Linked DNA regions of Homo sapiens: region 2 is linked to region 1. The links are contacts of gene promoters, found by promoter capture Hi-C in human tissues and cell types (Jung and others, 2019). All regions are on one chromosome and are shown on one strand. The core of a region is centred on a gene start or on the middle of the fragment in contact, and the rest is flanking DNA. Distances in the headings are between cores, read along the strand shown.

Region 1 (5,323 bases), core at 1,298-3,797:
GTAATCGCAGCTACTTGGGAGACTGAGGCAGGAGAATCGCTTGAACCCAGGAGGCAGGGGAAGGGAAGGGAAGGGGAGGAGATGGGAGGGGAGGGGAGGGGAGGGAAGCCTGGGGGACAGAGCAAAACTCAGTCTCAAAAAAACAAAAACAACAAAAAAAATGATTCTGACGCATGCTCAATTTTGAGACCTGCTGCTCTAGCTGATGGTTGTTATATCTAAGATTGCAGGACTGTGTTGCCAGATCTTTTACTTTTTCCAAGAGAAGCTAGAGGTTTATTTTTATATGAAATTCGCTACTTTTAAATCTTGGCAACTAATTTAAAAATTTAAAACATACTGTGTAGTTAATAATGTATGTGCTCTAGCCAGATTTGCAACCTCTGATTTATGCTTTTTCCTTTAACCCTTATAATAATCTTATAAAACCCTTATAATAATCATCCAAGACTGTTAGGATGATACACAGTTTATGCAGGAAGAAGATGCAGGCCCAAAACATGAAGTGTTTCTCTAAGTCACATAGCCAGAAAGTGGCCATGGATGCATTGTCCCTGATTGGGCATGGATGCATTTGGTTCTAAAGCCTCTGCCCTTTTAAATGATGTAAAGAGAATATCTATAACTATACCTAGCACGGAACTTGGCACCACAAAAGCTAAACATCTGATGCCATTGACTGATGAAAATTCCTTCCCCATCCTTCTGCCTGGCCCTGCCACTCTCCCTCAGTCTGTATTCCTGTAAGAGAGAGCCAATCAATAGGGTGCTCATAAGGGCCTGGGAGGAGCAAGGCTGGGCAGTTTCCTGGCCCAGGGAGCTGAATAGGGCCCGGAAGAAAGCTGTTGGCAGCAGTGCCTGGGGCTGAATGTACAGTAGCCAGCTGGGTCCACGGGCTAAAAACTGGCTGCTCACCCCAGTGTTCTCTTTGTGCCCTAGACTGGGTTTCACTAGCCTGTTATGGGCTGTGTTCCCACCTGGCTCCTGCCCTCATTGTTGACTGAGCTCAGAGTAAATAGCCCTGGCCCCTCCCAATAACGTCCCCAGTCCCCAAGTTGAGCATGAGAAGCTGGGGGAGGTGTTCTCAGCATCCATTTTGGGGACAGTGGCCAGATGTACTCACATCACCAAACCCTACTCACCTGTCACTATCATCCCAGTGTTCACTGCCCCAGGGCCCCTCTAGCCTCCAGCAGCAAAGACCTCCTGGGGCTTCTAGAACCTCAGATCATTGGAGCAGGAAGCACTTCTTGTCTAACTCCCTGGGTAACTCTGTTTTGGCACTTAACCCCCTGGATTCTAAAGCTTCATTTATACTTATTGGTCTCCTTCGTCACAGGAGACACTTATCTGTGGAGCACTCATGGCCATGTATCCAGTACCTATCATGGGTCAGGCCTGGAGTCCCTGTGTCAATCAGTGTGGATCTACTCTCAATGCTCCCAGTGAGTACATGGTTGTTCCGTGGCAGGAACGTTGCATTTGTGTTCTCACTGAAGTCCCATATAGGTGTCATTTTCACTGATGATGTGGCAGCTCAGATCCAGGAAAGGATTCATTCCAGGGCCCTCAGGTGGGAAGTGGTGGAGGTGGGAGTCAGACCCCAGACCCTGTCACCCCTTCAAGACCAGTGCTGGAGGGCCCCTTTTGACGACTTTCTCTTCACCAAGCGTCTTGCCCTGCATATGTCACACAGTAGGCACCCAGTGAATATTTACGACGGAATGGAAAAAACAAGGGCCTGGAGGGAGAGACCTGGGTTCAAAACCTTATTTGTACAGCTTTGCAGGGGACCTTGTGGTGGAGGTGCGGTCCTAAATCCCTAAACACTCAGTTCCTTTGTCATATACAGCTGATAACAGTAACTCCCCGGTCAGAGGACCGGCGACAATTCCTTGAGACAAGGAGCACAGAGCCTGGCACAGTCAGCCCTGATCAGGGGCCGGTAGGACAAAGAGAGGGAGACAGAAACACACACCCAAACGGCTTGAGACTGCTAGGTGCTTCACCTTCCTGGGCCTGTTTCTGATGAGGAGGGTTTGTTTATTAATAATAAGTGCTATTTCTGTAGCCCCTACTATGTGCTCTGTATCACTACCCTAGCCCTCCATCAAGAGGGATCTGCCCTCTCATCTGGCTGACCCCAAATCGAACCCTTTAACCCGCATGCTCTACTGCCTCCCTGCGGGCCCTGCCTTATCCTCCTCAACCGCCCACTGGGGACACTCTGGAGAAACCTCGGAGTCTTGGAATAGAAACCCAGGAGCCCTGAGCCTTGGCCCTCAGGCCCCAGGAGGGAGGTCAGGAGGGAGGCGTGGACAAGGGTCCGGCCGTAGCTGGTCCCGTCCTGGAAGCTGCTTAAGTTCCTGGTTCCCACCGGGGCCAAGAGTGATACCTGATCCTGGGGGATTGTGAAATGACCTCATGTGGCAGCCCGCCCGCGGTGCCCGCAAAGCCCTCCACCCTCCCCTTCCCCGCTCGGCTCCACCCCTACCCCACGCCCCCTCCCGCGCGCGCGGTTAAATCCCCGCACCTGAGCATCGGCTCACACCTGCACCCCGCCCGGGCATAGCACCATGCCTGCTTGTCGCCTAGGCCCGCTAGCCGCCGCCCTCCTCCTCAGCCTGCTGCTGTTCGGCTTCACCCTAGTCTCAGGTGAGTGGGGCGGGGAGAGGCCCGGCGCCTAGAGGGGCCGAGCCACGAGCGCCAGGATGGAGCCAGGCGGAGGCGTAGCCTCTGGAGGCTGGGGAAGTGGGAATTCCGGGGGCGGAAGTGGCGGGGACCCTTGGAGCCTAGGGTGTGGGGTCCAATGTGCTGGAGGTGGAGAGACCACTGATGGCTGCAATTTGGGAGGATTCTGTGCTGAACGCGGACACTCCGTGGCTGCAGTGGGCTGGGGGTGGGGGCTGCTCTGCCTCGACCTCGGAAGCTCCGAGACGCTCAGCTGTGCGGCGTCCCCTAGGGCTGAGATCTGAGGGCCCCGACGCCAAGGGTTAGGGAGCTCTCGTACTCCCAGGGGTCAGGGACTCCTGGTCTGGAAGAAGGAGTCTCTGGGGGCTGTAAGGGGACTCCTAGGGCCAGAGACTGAGAATTCCTTGGGGTTAAGGTTTGGAGCAGGAGGTGGGCATCCTCTGGGGCTGGCGCTACGCCCCACCCTCGACTGTCCCGGGCCTCCCCTCCCAGGCACAGGAGCAGAGAAGACTGGCGTGTGCCCCGAGCTCCAGGCTGACCAGAACTGCACGCAAGAGTGCGTCTCGGACAGCGAATGCGCCGACAACCTCAAGTGCTGCAGCGCGGGCTGTGCCACCTTCTGCTCTCTGCCCAATGGTAACCCCACGGCGGCCGAGCGGGAACGGGGCGGGGCCGCGCTGGGCTGGGAGGAGGTGGGAGGGCCCGGGTTCCGGGAACAGGGGCGCCCCCGGACCCGGGGACCCCCGGGAAAGTCAAGGCGGTTGAAACCAGATCCGTCAGTCCTCTCCCTCGCACGGCCCAGGGGTAGACAAAGGCGTCGTTGAAACGCAGCCAAGGGGGGGTCCCCACCCCTAGCTGGGATTCGAGTCTCTGGTGCATGACGGGCTTCCGGGCACGCACAGCCGGGACATTGTTCCCCGCGGCCTGGGGACCCGGGGCCGCAGTTTCCTTCTCGAACCGGCCGAAGCCTGCCCTGCGGGAAAGCCCGGAGCCTGGGGCGCTCACCTCTCCTCTTGGAGTCCCTCCCTGGGGGCCTCCCCCAGCCCTGGGGAAAGACTGGGAGAGCCTGGCCTGGCAAGATTTTCCCCAATTCCTCTGTCCAGGCGGAAAGGAACTTTACAGATTTAGGAAAATGCCCCGCTCATCTTAAAGATGTGTAAGGGAGCATCGGTGAGAAAAAAATGTTCTTGCCCAAGGTCACACCGCCATCCCATGGCTGCTGGAGTCATAGTGAGGGTTCAGCTTTTGCCTTTCAGGCCAACTGGCTGAGTGATTCGAAGAAAGTGAGGAATCCTCCCTGGACACTGTATCGCCCTTCGTCGTCTTTCAGTCAATCTCTTCCACTCTAAGGATTGAGTGAGCGCGAGCTGGGGACTCTCTCAAAGGTGCTTGCTGGAGCTGCAGTCTCCACCAGGCTATCAGAACAGGGGGTGGCTTAAACAGCATGGAATCTCAGCTTTCCGTTCTCCAGAGGAAAATGCTGAGGATTAGAGGCAGGGATAGGACCTGGAGAGAACCAAGGTACTGTAATGATGTTCTTTATCCAGAATACAGCCCCTGTGACTTTTCCTCTCTGTTATTTCCTTGAAGATGCCAGCACAGGCTGGGAAGGTTTGTAATACGGTGACCCAAGACACCGATCAGCAGGGAGGTGGTAAGTGGAGGGGGACTGGCAGCCCACCAAGGGCAGCTTCAAGGTCATGAGTCCCCTCCTCTGGGCCAGGGAGAGGAGGACCAGAAGGAGAGAGGAAGATTTGGAGAGAAAGCAGGCAGCAGCCAGATGAGAGAGGTGGAGGAGCAAAGGAGGGAGTCTTTGCTGTTTGATGGATGAAGAATTTGTTCCCTTATCTCAGATGGACAGACTGAGGCAGGAAGAGGGACAAGGTCAGATGGCCTCCTGAGCCAGGGAGGCAGCCTGGAGGTTTGAATCCTAGTTCTGCCATTTTCTAGTTATGTGATCCTGAGCATGTTGTTTACCTCTCTGAGCCTCTGCTCTAAGATGGGAATAATTCCAAACTCTATAGGATTGGCATGAGGACTAAATGAAATAATGCATCTAAAGTGTCTATTAGTGAGAAGATACTCCATACACAGTGGCTTGTTTTGATCATAAATGGTTCCCTATTTATTTCCAGGGCAGCCCAATATTACAGGTTCCTACTCCTTTCAAGAGAATGAATTTCTTTGTATTAGGAAGTCAAGACTGTTGGCAACTTAACAACATTTTTTTTTGTATTTATGCTTTAAGTTCTGGGGTACACGTGCAGAACGTGCAGGTTTGTTACATAGGTATACATGTGCCATGGTGGTTTGCTTCACCCATCAACCCGTCATCTACATTAGGTGTTTCTCCTAATGCTATGCCTCCCCTAATTCCCAACCCCCCGACAGGCCCTGGTGTGTGATGTTCCCCTCCCTGTGTCCATGTGTTCTCATTGTTCAACTCCTACTTATGAGTGAGAACATGCGGTATTTGGTTTTCTGTTCTTGTGTTAGTTTGCTGAGAATGATGGTTTCCAGCTTCATCCATGTCTCTGCAAAGGACATGAACTCATCATTTGTTATGGCTGCATAGTATTCCATGGTGTAGACGTGCCACATTTCCTTTATCCAGTCCATCACTGATGGGCAT
Region 2 (5,323 bases), core at 1,042-3,541, 250 kb after region 1:
ATGAAACAAGGCTCAACATCGCTGATCATTAGAGAAACGAAAATCAAAACCACAATGAGATACCATCTCATACCAGTCAGAATGGTGATTATTAAAAAGTAAAAAAAAAAACAAAAAACACAGATGCTGGAGAGGTTGTAGAGAAAAAGGAACACTTTTACACTGTTAGTGGGCGTGTAAATTAGTTCAACTATTGTGGAAAACAGTGTGGAGATTCCTCAAAGATCTAGAGGCAGAAATACCATCTGACCCAATAATCCCATTACTGGGTATATACCCAAAGGAACATAAATCATTCTATTATAAAGACACATGCATGCATATGTTCATTGCAGCACTATTCACAATAGCAAAGACATGAATCAATCCAAATGCCCATCAATGATAGACTGGATAAAGAAAATGTGATACTGAAATATATATATATACACACACACACCATGGAATTCTATGCAGCCATAAAAAGAAATGAGATCATGTCCTTTGCAGGGATATGGATGGAGCTCGAAGCAGTTATCCTCAGCAAACTAACACAGGAGCAGAAAACCAAACACTGCATGTTCTCACTTACAAGTGGTAGCTGAATGATGAGAACACATGGACACATAAGTGGAACAACACACACTGGAGCATATCATGGGGGTGGTAGGGAGAGGGAGAACATCAAGAAGAATACCTGGTGAATGCTGGGCTTAATACCTAGGTGTAGGGATGATCTGTGCAGCAAATCACCATGGCACACATGGTTTATGTATGTAACAAACCTGCACATCCTGCACATGTACCGCTGAAATTAAAATAAAAGTTGAAGATTTTTTTAAAAGATAGCATTTACAATAATATTAAAAATATAAATAAGATTGTAACACCTGCATGAGAAATGTCATAAACCTTTCTTTAAAATATTAATGAAGGTCAAAATAGATGGAAATATATATATCAAAGACAATATTATAAGGATATCATTCTTTTCCAATTGATTTGTAGATCCAGTGCAATTCAAATGAATATCCAAAATAGGTGTTTTGTTTTTGTTTTTGTTTTTGTTTTCGTTTTCGGTCAGAGTCTTGCTCTGTCACCCAGGCTGGAGTGCAATGGCACAGTCTCAGCTCACTACAACCTCTGCCTCCCAGTTCAAGCAATTCTCATGCCGCAGCCTCCCAAGTAGCTGAGATTACAGGAACTCACCACCATAACCAGCTAATTTTTGTATTTTTAGTAGAGACGGGGTTTTGCCATGTTGACCAGGCTGGTCTCCAACTCCTGACCTCATGGGATTCACCCACCTCAGCCTCCCAAAGTGCTGGGATTACAGGCATGAGCCACCACGCCTGGCCCGAAACAGGTCTTTTGAATAACTTGATAAACTGACTAAAATTTATATGAAAATACAAAATCCTAAGATAAACAAAGTTCAAGAGATTAAGTGTGGCTTTGGAGTGGGGGTATACAGTGGAGTGAAATAAAGGGCTCAGAAGCAATCCCACATAATTAAGCAAAATTATTTTGCAGTTAAATAGAAGAGGAACTCATTAATAAATAGGTCTGGAACCACTGAAAAATGAAAAAGGATCCTTATGTTATACCTTACCAAAAAATCAACATCAGGTGGTTTTAGGGTGTAAAGGTAAGCCAAAACTTCAAAACTTTTAGGAGAAAACAGATCCAAGATGTCCTCATGTTCCTAGATAACATAGTGTAGTGTGACTAAGAACAAAAACTCTGAAGCCAAGTTCAAATCTTGTCTCTACCACATAATAAATGAGTGACCTTGTACATGTAACCTAATCTCTGTCTCCATTTCATCCTTAAATGATGGTAATAACTGTACTTACTTCATAGGGTGTATATGATGATAAAGTATATACAAATTACTTAAAAATAGCACCTGGAATTAAGTAGTACTCTAGGTTATAACTAACCCTGTTACTATTATTATAGTGCTATTGCACTCTTTCTCTTGTGCCATGATTAGTTTCTTCTGTGCATAAAAGGTCAAAAAGAGAAAGGAAGAAATCCCTTTTTAATTCCTCACTCTGATGATTCTACCCTTCATGATTAAATATATGCAGAAGCTCTGATCCTTAAGTTTCTATTGCTTCTAGATGAACATGGGACTCACTATCAAGGGTCTAATCAGTTTGGGGCCTTCAGCTTCATGGCTGGGTACCCAAGCACTCACTGTTCAACTCAACACCTAGTAATGTCCAGTCCTGGCCCTTGGGGTAGGTGAGCTCAACCGTCTCAAGTATCAAGCCCAAAATATAACATCAGGTGATACCACAACTATCCTGCCTGCTGCTTGCTGCACCATGAAGTCTGCCAAGCTGGGATTTCTTCTAAGATTCTTCATCTTCTGCTCATTGAATACCCTGTTATTGGGTGGTGTTAATAAAATTGCGGAGAAGATATGTGGAGACCTCAAAGGTATGAAGCTAAGGCAGAAAATAAATCCAAAGGTCAATTATGAATGAGAGAGAAGGTATTGGGAGAAAAGTGTGTTATCTAGGTAGTCCAGGAAGGTCTTCCTTTCATGACAATACCCATAGACACTTAGTCCCTTGACTCAGGGCATTACTTACACTAGGGGTCCTCTGGATGTTTGATGAGAAAAAACAGAAATGACACAAAGTCCTTTCCAGATGGAGACCTCTTTTATAGGAGGTCCAAAGGACTGGAAGTATTTTGAATCAGAGGTTGTGTGACAAATTTCAAAGATCCCAGACCATTGATGATTATGTATTGGGATGAGAGAGAAAGGGGGTTGGAGACAGAGCAAATTAAGACATTTTCAGTATCTGGGCTATGGACATATACAGAACTCTTGGACAGATGATTCCTGTTTAGAGGAGCTCACAATGTAAATGTGAGAGGCAATGAGACTTTCTTCCATAGATAGTGTGTGAAGGCTCAGCGCTTCCAGGGGACGAGAAAGTAGCACAGTTTATACCGTAAGTCAGACACTTCAAGTTCTGGACCTGTTCACTTAGCAGATATGTGCCCTTGGACAAGTCACTCAACCACTTATTATTCTCTTAGTCTCAGTTTCCCCATGTGTAAAATGAAGATCAGAAAAGTGCCTGCTGCAGAGGGTGTTTGTGAGTATGAAATAAGATTATGCACATAACTTTACCAGAGAGTAAATTCCAGGCTGGCTGCTTGAGTAAGGTGGATTGTCAATACAACCATGATTGTGGCTGTTCCAACCACTTACTACCCAACTCTTAACAATAAAAACAGAGGGTTTGCCTCTGAGAAGGCAAGAAAGGAGAAGATGACGGGGTATGAGGATGAACGAGCATCACCCCAAGGTTATGCATTTTAGCATTTTAGTATGCATCCTGCTTTAAAGATAGCAGCAGCCATGGTTACTTAAATTTTGAAGTATAGGTAGTATAGTGAATGTATGAAACTGGGGAGGAGGCACTCTGAATTGCATGTCCTATGTGGGCAATTAAAAGGAAAGGAAGATGATGTGGGGAAGCAGGAGGATACTGTACTTTAATAAACTGTAAGATAGGAAATGTAGGGAAGCTCATCGCCCTGCACAAGCTAGTGGTGGAACCTCCTTTTTCACTGATCACTACTTCTCCTTCTCCAATACACTGCTCACGACAACAACCTGGAATTTTAACCAATTTGCATTGTGCAAGGGCAACATTTCCAAGCAACTCTAACTCCAAGAGAAAACCACATCTTTCAGAGTCCTTGAATATGAGAATAGTTCCAGGCTAAACGTAGGAATTTTTAAGGGCCCATAAAGACAAGTTCTCCTGCTGAGTCCTTACCAATTCCCACTAACTCAATGGGAACCTCTCATGCAGATCCCTGCAAATTGGACATGAATTTTGGAAGCTGCTATGAAGTTCACTTTAGATATTTCTACAACAGAACCTCCAAAAGATGTGAAACTTTTGTCTTCTCCGGCTGTAATGGCAACCTTAACAACTTCAAGCTTAAAATAGAACGTGAAGTAGCCTGTGTTGCAAAATACAAACCACCGTAAGGAATCTAATCCTGTCCTTGGTCCTTGGGGGTAGTAAAAGAAGAGGTTTTGACATCCTAAGATAGAGAAAATTGATCAGGGGCTAACCTTGCTTGGAGTGGGAAGAGGGAGGATTGCTCAAATAAGAAGTTTTAACAGTTGGGTTGGCCGGGCGCAGTGGCTCATGCCTGTAACCCCAGCACTTTGGGAGGCTGAGGTGGGTGTATCACCTGAGGTCAGGAGTTCAAGACCAGCCTGACCAACATGGAGAAACCCCATCTTTACTAAAAATACAAAATTAGCCAGGCATAGTGTCGCATGCCTGTAATCCCAGCTACTCGGGAGGCTGAGGCAGGAGAATCACTTGAACCCGGGAGGGTTCAAGAAGTTCAGAGGGTTCAGAGGTTGCGGCGAGCCGAGATCGCGCCATCCATTGCACTCCAGCCTGGGCAATAAGAGCAAAACTCCATCTAAAAAAAAAAAAAAAAAAAAACCACATTTGGGTGGGCTGTCAGGATCATTTGCTCATTTTGCAGTTAGGAAATCAAATGCCCAGAGAGAAAATAATAGCCACCATCTATTGGACAATTACTGTGTGTCAGGCACTGCACTAAGCAATTAACATATATTGATATAATTTAAAATTATATCAAGGTAGGGCCAGGCGTGGTGGCTCACGCCTGTAATCCCAGTACTTTGAGAGGCCGAGGTGGGCGGATCACAAGGTCAGGAGATCGAGACCATCCTGGCTAACACAGTGAAACCCCGTCTCTACCAAATATACAAAAAATTTGCCAGGCGTGGTGGCAGGCGCCTGTAGTCCCAGCTACTCGGGAGGCTGAGGCAGGAGAATGGTGTGAACCCGGGAGGCGGAGCTTGCAGTGAGCCAAGATCATGCCACTGCACTCCAGCCTGGGAGACAAAGTGAGACTCCATCTCAAAAAAAAAAAAAAAAATATATATATATATATATATATATATATATATCAATAGATATATATCATTATTTTTATGTGACAGATGAAGAAACCAAGTACAGTACAAGTAACCAAGCATCTCGAGGTCACATTATTAAATGGCACAGCAGGGTTTCTAACCAGAGCTGACAGTCACAATGGTCTTGACAATCTTACATGGACAAGGTCACCCAAACCAAATTCTTGCACTCTCATACCTTTGAACTCTTCATAGCAACTTGCTGCTTTATACAACTAAGCTCCCAGCCCATGCTTGACTATTTCCCAATCATTGGAAATAGAAGGTCAATGGTGCCTAACAGGGCTGTGGTTTGGCTGATTCCCAGGAGAACTGGCTGGAGAGTGGCCTTGGGAGTAACTA

The links. Contacts are between HindIII fragments. The study calls those that stand out against the background at their distance.
Region 2: a contact is called between the fragment with the promoter of SPINT4 here and the fragment with the promoter of WFDC2 in region 1, in 2 of the 25 tissues and cell types used here (mesendoderm cells and small bowel).

Annotation. Positions count from the first base shown.
Region 1 is chr20:45,467,206-45,472,528 of GRCh38, forward strand. WFDC2 (WAP four-disulfide core domain 2) reads left to right here and starts at 2,548. Exons shown (of 4, transcript NM_006103.4): 1 at 2,548-2,655; 2 at 3,184-3,327. The coding sequence starts at 2,577. RefSeq lists silencers at 3,213-3,402, 3,423-3,472. The HindIII fragment of the contact is 12,073 bases long and covers 1-5,323 here.
Region 2 is chr20:45,720,056-45,725,378 of GRCh38, forward strand. SPINT4 (serine peptidase inhibitor, Kunitz type 4) reads left to right here and starts at 2,292. Exons shown (of 3, transcript NM_178455.3): 1 at 2,292-2,427; 2 at 3,825-4,002. The coding sequence starts at 2,313. The HindIII fragment of the contact is 7,531 bases long and covers 1-4,820 here.